Regions from separate parts of the Homo sapiens genome. Here regions 2, 3 and 4 are each linked to region 1. The links are contacts of gene promoters, found by promoter capture Hi-C in blood cells and fetal thymus (Javierre and others, 2016). All regions are on one chromosome and are shown on one strand. Each heading gives the region's core, a stretch centred on a gene start or on the middle of the fragment in contact. The rest is flanking DNA. Distances are from core to core; before and after follow the strand shown. Region 1 holds the start of PCDHGB1 (protocadherin gamma subfamily B, 1). Region 2 holds the start of PCDHB5 (protocadherin beta 5). Region 3 overlaps PCDHB13 (protocadherin beta 13). Region 4 holds the start of PCDHGC5 (protocadherin gamma subfamily C, 5).

Evidence for each region. Contacts are between HindIII fragments. The CHiCAGO score rates a contact against its expected background, and 5 or more counts as called.
Region 2: a contact is called between the fragment with the promoter of PCDHB5 here and the fragment with the promoter of PCDHGB1 in region 1, in 17 of 17 cell types (monocytes, neutrophils, erythroblasts and 14 more). The highest score is 26.4, in monocytes.
Region 3: a contact is called between a fragment that was not itself captured here and the fragment with the promoter of PCDHGB1 in region 1, in 1 of 17 cell types (endothelial precursors). The highest score is 8.1, in endothelial precursors.
Region 4: a contact is called between a fragment that was not itself captured here and the fragment with the promoter of PCDHGB1 in region 1, in 1 of 17 cell types (total CD8 T cells). The highest score is 5.1, in total CD8 T cells.

What each region holds. Positions count from the first base shown.
Region 1 is chr5:141,348,703-141,351,738 of GRCh38, forward strand. PCDHGB1 (protocadherin gamma subfamily B, 1) reads left to right here and starts at 1,397. Exons shown (of 4, transcript NM_018922.3): 1 at 1,397-3,036. The coding sequence starts at 1,559. The region is part of intron 1 of PCDHGA1 (protocadherin gamma subfamily A, 1); the gene reads left to right. All of the region lies in intron 1 of PCDHGA2 (protocadherin gamma subfamily A, 2), which reads left to right. The region is part of intron 1 of PCDHGA3 (protocadherin gamma subfamily A, 3); the gene reads left to right. It also overlaps PCDHG@. The HindIII fragment of the contact is 7,439 bases long and covers 1-3,036 here.
Region 2 is chr5:141,133,579-141,136,614 of GRCh38, forward strand. It overlaps PCDHB5 (protocadherin beta 5), which reads left to right and starts at 1,628. Exons shown (of 1, transcript NM_015669.5): 1 at 1,628-3,036. The coding sequence starts at 1,857. It also overlaps PCDHB@. The HindIII fragment of the contact is 16,081 bases long and covers 1-3,036 here.
Region 3 is chr5:141,214,780-141,217,815 of GRCh38, forward strand. It overlaps PCDHB13 (protocadherin beta 13), which reads left to right. Exons shown (of 1, transcript NM_018933.4): 1 at 1-3,036. The coding sequence ends at 1,741. It also overlaps PCDHB@. Among named protein-coding and RNA genes, the nearest start is that of PCDHB13, 2.4 kb to the left of the region's middle. RefSeq lists an enhancer at 717-1,245. The HindIII fragment of the contact is 2,415 bases long and covers 196-2,610 here.
Region 4 is chr5:141,487,304-141,490,339 of GRCh38, forward strand. The region is part of intron 1 of PCDHGA1 (protocadherin gamma subfamily A, 1); the gene reads left to right. All of the region lies in intron 1 of PCDHGA2 (protocadherin gamma subfamily A, 2), which reads left to right. The region is part of intron 1 of PCDHGA3 (protocadherin gamma subfamily A, 3); the gene reads left to right. All of the region lies in intron 1 of PCDHGB1 (protocadherin gamma subfamily B, 1), which reads left to right. It also overlaps PCDHGA4, PCDHGB2, PCDHGA5, PCDHGB3, PCDHGA6 and PCDHGA7, and 13 more genes. The HindIII fragment of the contact is 152 bases long and covers 1,422-1,573 here.

The DNA.
Region 1 (3,036 bases), core at 147-2,646:
AATCCACTACAACAGAAAGGGAGGAGAAGTTCATAGTAAAAGGAATGGAAAGTATAAAGGCATGATGCAAGGAAACAAGTGAAAAGGTATCTTAAGAAAACAGATAATAGGCTGTTTCGAATAGAGTATGAGTATGGGTGAGCACTGCAAAATAGTAGAATAAATTGTTGAGTTGGATCTCATTTGGTAATGCATTTGAAATAAAGGGATTTGCTTTGAACCAAGACTGGTTCTAAGCCTGGAACTACAGAATAAGTTCCAAAATTGGGTGTCTAAGAACTCTGAATACCTCTCCAATATTTACCAGTGGTCAAGTCAAACTCGTTTTGCTCATTAATGGTATAAGTCGGCTGGAGCTGAGAATTGGCATTATAGAGAATGTTTTTGAGACAGAGTCTTGCTCTGTCACCCAGGATGGACTTCAGTGGCATGATCTCAACTCACTGCAACCTCTGCCTCCTGAGTTAAGTGATTCTGCTGCCTCAACCTCCCGAGTAGCTGGCGTTACAGGTACCCGCCACCATGCCTGGATAATTTTTATTTTTTTTAGTAGAGATGGCTTGCACCATGTTGGACAGGCTAGTCTCAAACTCCTGACCTCATGTGTTCTTCCCACCTTGGCCTCCCAAAGTGCTGGGATCACAGGTCACTGCACCCAGCCTAGAGTATTTAATATACATTCATATAAAAAAGAAGCACTGGTTTCATAAAACAAATGTACATTATATGAGATTCCACTTCATAAAAGCATGTATGTGTACCCCAACACTAAATTGGCCCTTTTAACAAAATATCAGACTTTGTCCTACTTAACTGGAAAGATTATCTATATTTTATAAAGAAGAGAAATAACATAATAGTAAGGCTGTGATTTCCTCTTTTTTGCAAAAACTATTTTTGAAAAGTATTACTGAATTGATAACATATATATGGAGAGATTTAAAATACTAGATAAGGGAGCTTATTCCAATGAATTTACAGAAAGGTAGGTATTTTAGTCAACTAAAAATATAAATAAAAATTATCAATTCACTTATTTGGATACAGCAGTCATGCCAGAGTTTATAAATATAGTGAAATCACTGAAGATTTTTTTTTACCCCCAAAACTGAAAAAAATGGCAGTGTACCTTGTGAATTTTTTAAATGAAAAAAGAATACGAAATGATGAAGGCCCTTATCTGATGATGACAAACTAGAAAACTGAAATGTAAAGGGGAAAATGTGAGTATGTGTTTCCCTCCAGCAAATTAAAGACAGGGTACATAGATTCAAGAGGTTGCGCTTTGAGGATAAAAAGCTGGGCCCTGTGCAGTTTTCCAAGACAACCTCTGGGCGCCGCTGTCGACCAAAAGGAAGTGAAGGCTTCTCAATTCTGCAGGAGCGTCAGGCAGGGTGCCTTCCTGCTTTGTCCGGTGCACTGAGCACAGACGCTGCTCCTGTTCACCCTCGAGCGCCTAACTAATAAGTCCTAAGCTCAAATCACAGAAGTCCAGGGTGCTGCCATTTCTTTTTGAAAAACATCCCAGAGGAAAGAAGCTCCGCGGAGAGTTCCTGAAATGCAGAGAGCCAGAGAAGCCGAAATGATGAAAAGTCAGGTACTGTTTCCCTTCCTGCTGTCTTTGTTCTGCGGGGCCATCTCCCAGCAGATCCGATACACGATTCCAGAGGAGCTAGCCAACGGCTCACGGGTGGGGAAACTTGCCAAGGATCTGGGGCTCAGTGTCCGGGAGTTGCCAACTCGAAAACTGCGGGTTAGTGCAGAGGATTATTTCAACGTTAGTTTGGAGAGCGGGGATTTGTTAGTGAACGGTAGGATAGATCGAGAGAAGATTTGCGGAAGGAAACTTGAGTGTGCACTAGAATTCGAAACGGTCGCTGAAAACCCAATGAATGTTTTCCACGTGGTTGTTGTAATCCAAGATATTAATGACAATGCACCACGTTTCGTTGCAAAAGGCATTGACTTAGAAATTTGTGAGTCAGCCTTACCCGGGGTAAAATTCTCTCTGGATTCTGCTCAAGATGCAGATGTGGAAGGCAATTCACTGAAGTTATACACCATCAACCCCAATCAATACTTCTCTCTGTCAACGAAGGAAAGTCCTGATGGAAGTAAATATCCGGTATTACTGCTGGAAAAACCTCTAGACAGGGAACATCAGAGCTCTCATCGCTTAATCCTGACTGCCATGGATGGCGGGGACCCGCCTCTAAGCGGCACCACCCATATCTGGATCCGAGTTACGGATGCCAATGATAATGCTCCCGTGTTTAGCCAGGAGGTATACAGGGTTAGCCTCCAAGAAAACGTACCGTGGGGAACCTCCGTGCTGCGGGTGATGGCCACAGACCAGGATGAGGGCATTAATGCAGAGATCACCTATGCCTTCCTCAATTCCCCAATAAGTACCAGCCTCTTCAATCTCAATCCAAATACTGGCGACATCACAACCAATGGCACATTGGATTTTGAAGAGACAAGTAGATATGTGTTGAGTGTGGAAGCTAAGGATGGAGGAGTACACACAGCTCACTGTAATGTTCAAATAGAAATTGTTGACGAGAATGACAATGCCCCAGAGGTGACATTCATGTCCTTCTCTAACCAGATTCCAGAGGATTCAGACCTTGGAACTGTAATAGCCCTCATAAAAGTGCGAGACAAGGATTCTGGGCAAAATGGCATGGTGACATGCTATACTCAGGAAGAAGTTCCTTTCAAATTAGAATCCACCTCGAAGAATTATTACAAGCTGGTGATTGCTGGAGCCCTAAACCGGGAGCAGACAGCAGACTACAACGTCACAATCATAGCCACCGACAAGGGCAAACCAGCCCTTTCCTCCAGGACAAGCATCACCCTGCACATCTCCGACATCAACGACAATGCACCTGTTTTCCATCAGGCCTCCTATGTGGTCCACGTGTCTGAGAACAACCCACCTGGCGCCTCCATTGCACAAGTAAGCGCCTCCGACCCGGATTTGGGACCCAACGGCAGAGTCTCCTACTCTATTCTGGCCAGTGACCTGGA
Region 2 (3,036 bases), core at 378-2,877, 210 kb before region 1:
CTTCAGAGCTATGGTTACCTAATTTATAACAAAGATGACATTTCAAAAACAATGGAAAATGGATTGTCTTTTAAATAGATGGTGCAAAGGTTTAAAGCATTCAGATACTTACATTTTAAACCTTTTGACTCCAAACTCATTCACTTGAAAAGTTAATTTCAGGTTGATTATAGCTTTAAATATGAAAAATGGAATAATTAATCTTTCAAAATACATCATACAAGAATATTTTCATGACCTTGGAGTATGTGAACATTTAAATAGAACACAAAAAAATGCTAATCATACATGAAACTTATTGACAAATCTGACTAAAGGTAAGAAATTTTATTCATCAAAGACACATAATAGACTTGAAATAAAAACCATAGAGTGGGAAAAGATATTTGCAATACATATATCTTAAAAAGGACTTATGCCCAGAATATATGAGAAACTTCTGCAGATCAATAAGCAAACAGGCAAATGCCTCCCCCCAAAAAAGTAAAAAGGTTTGCATAAGCCCTTCACAAGATTGTATCCTAATGGCTGATAAACATGAAAATGTGCTCAAATTGTTTAATCATCAGGGAAAATGCTAACTAAAATTACAATATCATATCACCATACACTAACCAGAGTGGTTTAAAATGGAAAAGATAGCATCAAATGTTGACAAGAATGTGGAGCAACTGGAACTCTCATACTTTGCTGGTATTAGTACGACTACTTGAGAAAACTTTCTCATTATCTGCTAAAGCAAAATATATGTGCACATCTTAATGCATAGCAATCCAACTCCTTTGAATATATTCAACATAAACACATATATGTGGTCACCAAAAGACTAGTACAAGGATGTTTATACCAGTACTACCCCAAAGAGCTTAAACCTGGAAAACAATGTTCATCAACTGGAGAATGAATAAATAAATCATAGTATATTCATACAACAGAATGATATAAAGCAATGAGAATAAAACAAATAAGAACAAGATGCCACAGATCAATTTGCTGAACATAATATTGAGGAGAAGAAGCCAGACACACGAGAGTAACAATCTATAACTCCATTTGTATAAAGTTAAAAAAAAAAAAAGCAAAAAAAACCTATGACAACAGAAGTCAGGACAGTGCTTATCTTTTGGGGAGAGGGTGGTAACCAGACAATAGCAGGTGGGGACTTGGGTTTGGGTAGTATTTTTAATCTAGGTTCTACTTACAGGAGTGTGTTCACTTTGCGAAAATTCATTGAGTTATACACCTATGATTTGTGCCATTTTCTGGGTGTTATTGGTGTTTACTTCAAAGTGAAAGTAATTTTTCTTAAACTTTAAATTTCTATAGATATTCCTGATCACTTATTTAATATAATCAAATAAGAAACACCAAACAAAGTGTATTTGTGTACTCAAGGGTACTTTTATGGAGATTAATATATAATTTTAGTTTTTTTCTCAAAAGTATTTTCTCACTGAAAATTAACTCCACAACATTTATTTAGAACTTTCAGCAACTAAGAGCTGGAGATACCATCGGGAGAGCTTATGTGACAAAAGGGTATGGATACACGTCAGTTAGAATTTAGGATGAAATGGCAAATACTATATGCAATAGTAAATTAGGACGCCTGGTGGCGCTGCAGGCTAAGAGTGTGGATAGTGGGCTCTGCGGATAACTCAGACGCCATTAAGCTGGGGAATCCAAACTCTAAAAGAAGGACGCATTTTAGGTAAGATCTAGTGGCTAGATCTTCAGGGTGGGCTTCGTTCTTGTGGAAATCAGTCAAGAAAGATCGGATTCGCGGTTATTTATGCAAATCATCTGGGTGGATTGTGTACGGAGTTAAACTGCGCCTTCTGGACCGGGTCTGAACAATGGAGACTGCGCTAGCAAAAACGCCACAGAAAAGGCAAGTTATGTTTCTTGCTATATTGTTGCTTTTGTGGGAGGCTGGCTCTGAGGCAGTTAGGTATTCCATACCAGAAGAAACAGAAAGTGGCTATTCTGTGGCCAACCTGGCAAAAGACCTGGGTCTTGGGGTGGGGGAACTGGCCACTCGGGGCGCGCGAATGCATTACAAAGGAAACAAAGAGCTCTTGCAGCTTGATATAAAGACCGGCAATTTGCTTCTATATGAAAAACTAGACCGGGAGGTGATGTGCGGGGCGACAGAACCCTGTATATTGCATTTCCAGCTCTTACTAGAAAATCCAGTGCAGTTTTTTCAAACTGATCTGCAGCTCACAGATATAAATGACCATGCCCCAGAGTTCCCAGAGAAGGAAATGCTCCTAAAAATCCCAGAGAGCACCCAGCCAGGGACTGTGTTTCCCTTAAAAATAGCCCAGGACTTTGACATAGGTAGCAACACTGTTCAGAACTACACAATCAGCCCAAATTCACACTTTCATGTTGCTACGCATAATCGCGGAGATGGCAGAAAATACCCAGAGCTGGTGCTGGACAAAGCGCTGGACCGGGAGGAGCGGCCTGAGCTCAGCTTAACACTCACTGCACTGGACGGTGGGGCTCCGCCCAGGTCCGGGACCACCACAATTCGCATTGTCGTCTTGGATAATAATGACAACGCCCCCGAATTTTTACAATCATTCTATGAGGTACAGGTGCCCGAGAACAGCCCCCTTAACTCCTTAGTTGTCGTTGTCTCCGCTCGAGATTTAGATGCAGGAGCATATGGGAGTGTAGCCTATGCTCTATTCCAAGGCGATGAAGTTACTCAACCATTTGTAATAGACGAGAAAACAGCAGAAATTCGCCTGAAAAGGGCATTGGATTTCGAGGCAACTCCATATTATAACGTGGAAATTGTAGCCACAGATGGTGGGGGCCTTTCAGGAAAATGCACTGTGGCTATAGAAGTGGTGGATGTGAATGACAACGCCCCTGAACTCACCATGTCTACGCTCTCCAGCCCTACCCCAGAAAATGCCCCGGAAACTGTAGTTGCCGTTTTCAGTGTTTCTGATCCAGACTCCGGGGACAACGGTAGGATGATTTGCTCCATCCAGAATGATCTCCCCTTTCTTTTGAAGC
Region 3 (3,036 bases), core at 153-2,652, 130 kb before region 1:
CTCTCCGCCCAGATCTGGCACTGCTCAGGTCTACATCGAAGTCCTGGATGTCAACGATAATGCCCCTGAATTTGAGCAGCCTTTCTATAGAGTGCAGATCTCTGAGGACAGTCCGGTAGGCTTCCTGGTTGTGAAGGTCTCTGCCACGGATGTAGACACAGGAGTCAACGGAGAGATTTCCTATTCACTTTTCCAAGCTTCAGAAGAGATTGGCAAAACCTTTAAGATCAATCCCTTGACAGGAGAAATTGAACTAAAAAAACAACTCGATTTCGAAAAACTTCAGTCCTATGAAGTCAATATTGAGGCAAGAGATGCTGGAACCTTTTCTGGAAAATGCACCGTTCTGATTCAAGTGATAGATGTGAACGACCATGCCCCAGAAGTTACCATGTCTGCATTTACCAGCCCAATACCTGAGAACGCGCCTGAAACTGTGGTTGCACTTTTCAGTGTTTCAGATCTTGATTCAGGAGAAAATGGGAAAATTAGTTGCTCCATTCAGGAGGATCTACCCTTCCTCCTGAAATCCGCGGAAAACTTTTACACCCTACTAACGGAGAGACCACTAGACAGAGAAAGCAGAGCGGAATACAACATCACTATCACTGTCACTGACTTGGGGACCCCTATGCTGATAACACAGCTCAATATGACCGTGCTGATCGCCGATGTCAATGACAACGCTCCCGCCTTCACCCAAACCTCCTACACCCTGTTCGTCCGCGAGAACAACAGCCCCGCCCTGCACATCCGCAGCGTCAGCGCTACAGACAGAGACTCAGGCACCAACGCCCAGGTCACCTACTCGCTGCTGCCGCCCCAGGACCCGCACCTGCCCCTCACATCCCTGGTCTCCATCAACGCGGACAACGGCCACCTGTTCGCCCTCAGGTCTCTGGACTACGAGGCCCTGCAGGGGTTCCAGTTCCGCGTGGGCGCTTCAGACCACGGCTCCCCGGCGCTGAGCAGCGAGGCGCTGGTGCGCGTGGTGGTGCTGGACGCCAACGACAACTCGCCCTTCGTGCTGTACCCGCTGCAGAACGGCTCCGCGCCCTGCACCGAGCTGGTGCCCCGGGCGGCCGAGCCGGGCTACCTGGTGACCAAGGTGGTGGCGGTGGACGGCGACTCGGGCCAGAACGCCTGGCTGTCGTACCAGCTGCTCAAGGCCACGGAGCTCGGTCTGTTCGGCGTGTGGGCGCACAATGGCGAGGTGCGCACCGCCAGGCTGCTGAGCGAGCGCGACGCGGCCAAGCACAGGCTGGTGGTGCTGGTCAAGGACAATGGCGAGCCTCCGCGCTCGGCCACCGCCACGCTGCACGTGCTCCTGGTGGACGGCTTCTCCCAGCCCTACCTGCCTCTCCCGGAGGCGGCCCCGACCCAGGCCCAGGCCGACTTGCTCACCGTCTACCTGGTGGTGGCGTTGGCCTCGGTGTCTTCGCTCTTCCTCTTTTCGGTGCTCCTGTTCGTGGCGGTGCGGCTGTGTAGGAGGAGCAGGGCGGCCTCGGTGGGTCGCTGCTTGGTGCCCGAGGGCCCCCTTCCAGGGCATCTTGTGGACATGAGCGGCACCAGGACCCTATCCCAGAGCTACCAGTATGAGGTGTGTCTGGCAGGAGGCTCAGGGACCAATGAGTTCAAGTTCCTGAAGCCGATTATCCCCAACTTCCCTCCCCAGTGCCCTGGGAAAGAAATACAAGGAAATTCTACCTTCCCCAATAACTTTGGGTTCAATATTCAGTGACCATAGTTGACTTTTACATTCCATAGGTATTTTATTTTGTGGCATTTCCATGCCAATGTTTATTTCCCCCAATTTGTGTGTATGTAATATTGTACGGATTTACTCTTGATTTTTCTCATGTTCTTTCTCCCTTTGTTTTAAAGTGAACATTTACCTTTATTCCTGGTTCTTAAAAGGTGACAATTCATTCTTTAACCCAGATGGTCTTAATTTGTAATTAATTTGCCTCCCTAAAGAGCAATACCAAATCACATTTTTTTCATGCCCCTATCTTTAGCTGAACTTCACCCACTATTATGCTTATGGTAAAATTAAATAGAGCAATTTGGAAGTGATTCCAATTTTCCAGCATTTCTTCATTTGATTCTCTTTTTTTAGTCTTAAAATAATGACTCCTATTCAGACATATCATTTTTCTTTTTTGTAAATCCAGTGCGTTTTTAGTTAACCTTTAAATATGCTTTTTGCTTTCAAAAATAAACCAGAAAACCTATATCCTATGATACAACTCTAAGTGTTATCACTTGATTCGAAAGGGTCAGAAGACCAGTTTTTTAGTATCCTTTCCTCATTCATCCTGGAGAGGATTGTGCAGGCACATTAATATTGTGACCAATCACAGAATCTGGGAATATGAAGCTATAATTTTTTAATTAATGTCACAAAGCTCTAGTGCAATCTAGTTGAATGCAGATGCCTGTGCCCAAATAATAATTCATATAGCATAAATTGGAGTTGTGTGTTAATGTGTAAAAATTTTTGCCTGTACTATCATATAATTTAATGTATATACACCAGAAACTATTTTTCAAACTTTTTTTACTGCAACCAATAGTTAAGATTATATTTTACATATTTTGAAACACACAAGCTTAATAGAAATAAATGCTTGTGAACAATGCTTAGTCTTTTTATGACATAATTTGAAATTACCTATATATTTCATTCTATTCAATTTTCAAATGTGGTCATGATCCACTAAATTTATTTCATGGTATACTAGTGGGTAGTAACCCAAAGTTTGAAAACCACTTTTCTCAGACATATAAAAGCATACCAGATGTTGAACATTGATAGTATCAAAAGATAGTCCCTTAGGGTTCTAATTTTAAAAAAATTTTCAAAGCATTGTAGGGGAGTAGCTTTGTCTCATGTTAAATCACTCTTACCTTTAAGGATCTGACACACTATGTAAGAAAAAGACTTCAAGGTTGGAGGAGGAGATTTTCCATGACTTTTATCAAAGTCTACAGTCTATGTTGTGGGAGAAAAATGTAGAATAACAAAATGAGTAA
Region 4 (3,036 bases), core at 248-2,747, 140 kb after region 1:
CTACTCTCTAAGTGTCTTCGTGGGGCAGCCTGTGGAGTCACATGCTTTCCTGCTGGCACCTGTGCCTGTCTCACCAGATCTCGAAGGAGGGAGGGGCTTCCCCCTTCCAATGGGATCCTCCGAATCCAGCTAGGGTCAGATGACCCTATCAAGTTTGTTGATGTGGGAGGCCACTCTCATGGCTGTACACCCTTGGCTTCTGCACCCACTCGGAGTGATAGCTTCATGATGGTGAAGTCACCCAGTGCACCTATGGCAGGGGAGCCTGTTCGCCCAAGCTGCCCACCCTCTGATCTTCTCTATGGGCTAGAGGTGAGACCTTTGCAGGCTCAACAAATGCTTGAGGGTTATTCTGATCCAGGCATATGGCTAGGCCATGTCCTAGAGAGTACTGGCCTCTCAGTAAGTGCCCATAGTGATGTCACCATTTTTGTAAGAGGTAACTATGTGGTAGACGCTGTGCTTTGTAACTGTTTCGTGAATTAACCAGAGTTGTCACAGTTTAGCATTGGGGGCGGGTCATGCCTATATCTGAGTAAGAAATGAAAGTAATTGGTGATCAAGAGCCAGGCTGTTGTGGAAGCATGATGATGGAATGTGGGAGCACAGGAGGCTACAGTGCACAGGGTACAGTGCACCAGGCAGTCACTTGGACAAAGGTGGCTGTTTTCTCTACTCTTCCTGAAAGAGGGGATCAGATTCTGAAGTACCTTAACTCTAGGTTACCATTTCCCAAGGGATTGAGGGGAAATAAAATCTTTGTCTCCCAGTATCTAGTACACTGTGAAGGGACCTCTCTATTTGAAACATAGAGACAGCAGAAAGAGGAGAGAACTAAAGGAATAGAGAGGCACGCATCAGAGTGGTGGCATAGATCTTTTGGTCTGGGTCTTAGGACTCATATCAAGTCCCTACTGGGGATTTGAACTAGATGCGGTAAATTGGAAGGTTGGGGCGGGTTGGTCATCACCTTTGGAAAAAACAGTAAGTGAAATCACTTATGTCAGAAAACTGGTTTACAGTTGGCTGATTCATAGAAACAGCCACCCTGTGCATCTTTAAGTTGAGTTCTCCTGAATTTGGTGAAACCATGAAACCTAGAAGCCAAGCCATCCATGCTTGGCCTCTGACCACCCTCCTGGGTGACCTGATTCAGCCCCAGAAATGTTCCCCTACCCAAAAACTGTAACACTCATTCCACATTTGGGGTCTGGGGTGTCAGAAAAGCTAAGTCCCATGTCAGCTGACATTGAGATTTCCGCAAAGCATTGCTGGAGAGTCAGGGCAAGACTTTACAAGGTTCTTACTAATCTTTTCTCTCACCTTAGCAGCATTCAGCAGGATGGGGGAGGGTGGGGGAATACATGGGCTTTGCCTCTCCCAGAAGGACAAGATTTTGCTGGTTCAAGCAAAGTGGTGGAAGCTTCTGAAGTCATGCAGGAAGTTGCTGGGACAGAACGCTGAGGAGTTTTGTATCACTTTGTCTTCCCTGTTGAGTACCATCTGAGCTGTCAAACTTTGCTGCCAAGGGGGCTGAATCAACCTGCAGCACGAAGTGAGTGGGGAGGTAGGAAGCTTCTGTGACACAGATTTGCAGCCTGTGTTCCCAAGGTTTCCAGGATTGAGGAAACTCCATAATTGGTTGAGAGCACACAGACTTTTTGGCCAATCAGACTCAGAGCTGAGGTGGGAGATCTGCTCTTCCAGCCCGCCTCTCCTCCTCCAGCTCCCCAGCTCCACTCAAATTCAGCTCCCCTCCCCCCTGCCCACCCCCGCCACTCGGTGACTAAGAACTGCTGCAAGCAGGCAAACCTCCGAGCAGTTTTTAAGAGGCTGGAAGGAGACATAAGAGACTTCAGCTGCTGCATTCCAAGCCCTGGGTCTACCTTGGAGACAGGACAGCACAGACTTACTCTCCACAAAGGGACTTCTGGGTCATGGGGCCCAAGACACTCCCACAGCTCGCTGGGAAATGGCAAGTGCTGTGCATGTTGTCCTTGTGCTGCTGGGGCTGGGTGTCTGGGCAGCTTCGTTACTCAGTGGTGGAGGAGTCTGAGCCGGGGACGCTGGTGGGGAATGTTGCTCAGGATCTGGGCTTAAAGATGACAGATCTGTTGAGCCGGCGGCTGCAATTGGGCTCTGAGGAGAATGGGCGCTATTTTTCCCTGAGCTTGATGAGTGGTGCCCTGGCAGTGAATCAAAAGATTGACCGAGAAAGCCTATGTGGAGCCAGCACCAGCTGCCTGCTGCCAGTGCAGGTGGTGACTGAACACCCCCTGGAGCTAATCCGTGTAGAGGTAGAGATCCTGGATCTCAATGACAACTCTCCTAGCTTTGCCACCCCTGAGCGAGAGATGCGCATCTCAGAATCAGCAGCATCTGGGGCACGATTCCCACTGGACAGTGCCCAGGATCCGGATGTGGGCACCAATACTGTGAGCTTTTACACTCTAAGCCCCAACAGCCACTTCTCTCTGAATGTGAAGACCCTAAAAGATGGGAAGCCATTCCCAGAGCTGGTGCTAGAGCAGCAGCTGGATCGTGAAGCCCAGGCAAGACATCAGCTGGTGCTTACTGCTGTGGATGGGGGGACCCCAGCCCGCTCAGGGACCACCCTTATCTCTGTCATCGTGCTGGACATCAATGATAATGCTCCAACCTTCCAATCCTCAGTTCTACGTGTGGGAATCCCAGAGAATGCACCCATTGGTACTCTGCTGCTCCGCCTCAATGCCACTGATCCAGACGAGGGCACCAACGGCCAACTAGACTATTCTTTTGGAGACCACACATCTGAGGCAGTGCGGAACCTCTTTGGCCTAGACCCTAGCAGTGGGGCAATCCATGTGTTGGGTCCCATAGACTTTGAGGAGTCACGTTTCTATGAAATTCATGCAAGAGCCCGTGACCAGGGACAGCCTGCCATGGAGGGCCACTGTGTGATTCAAGTGGATGTGGGGGATGTCAATGACAATGCCCCAGAGGTGCTATTGGCCTCTTTGGCCAACCCTGTCCTAGAGAGCACACCAGTGGGCA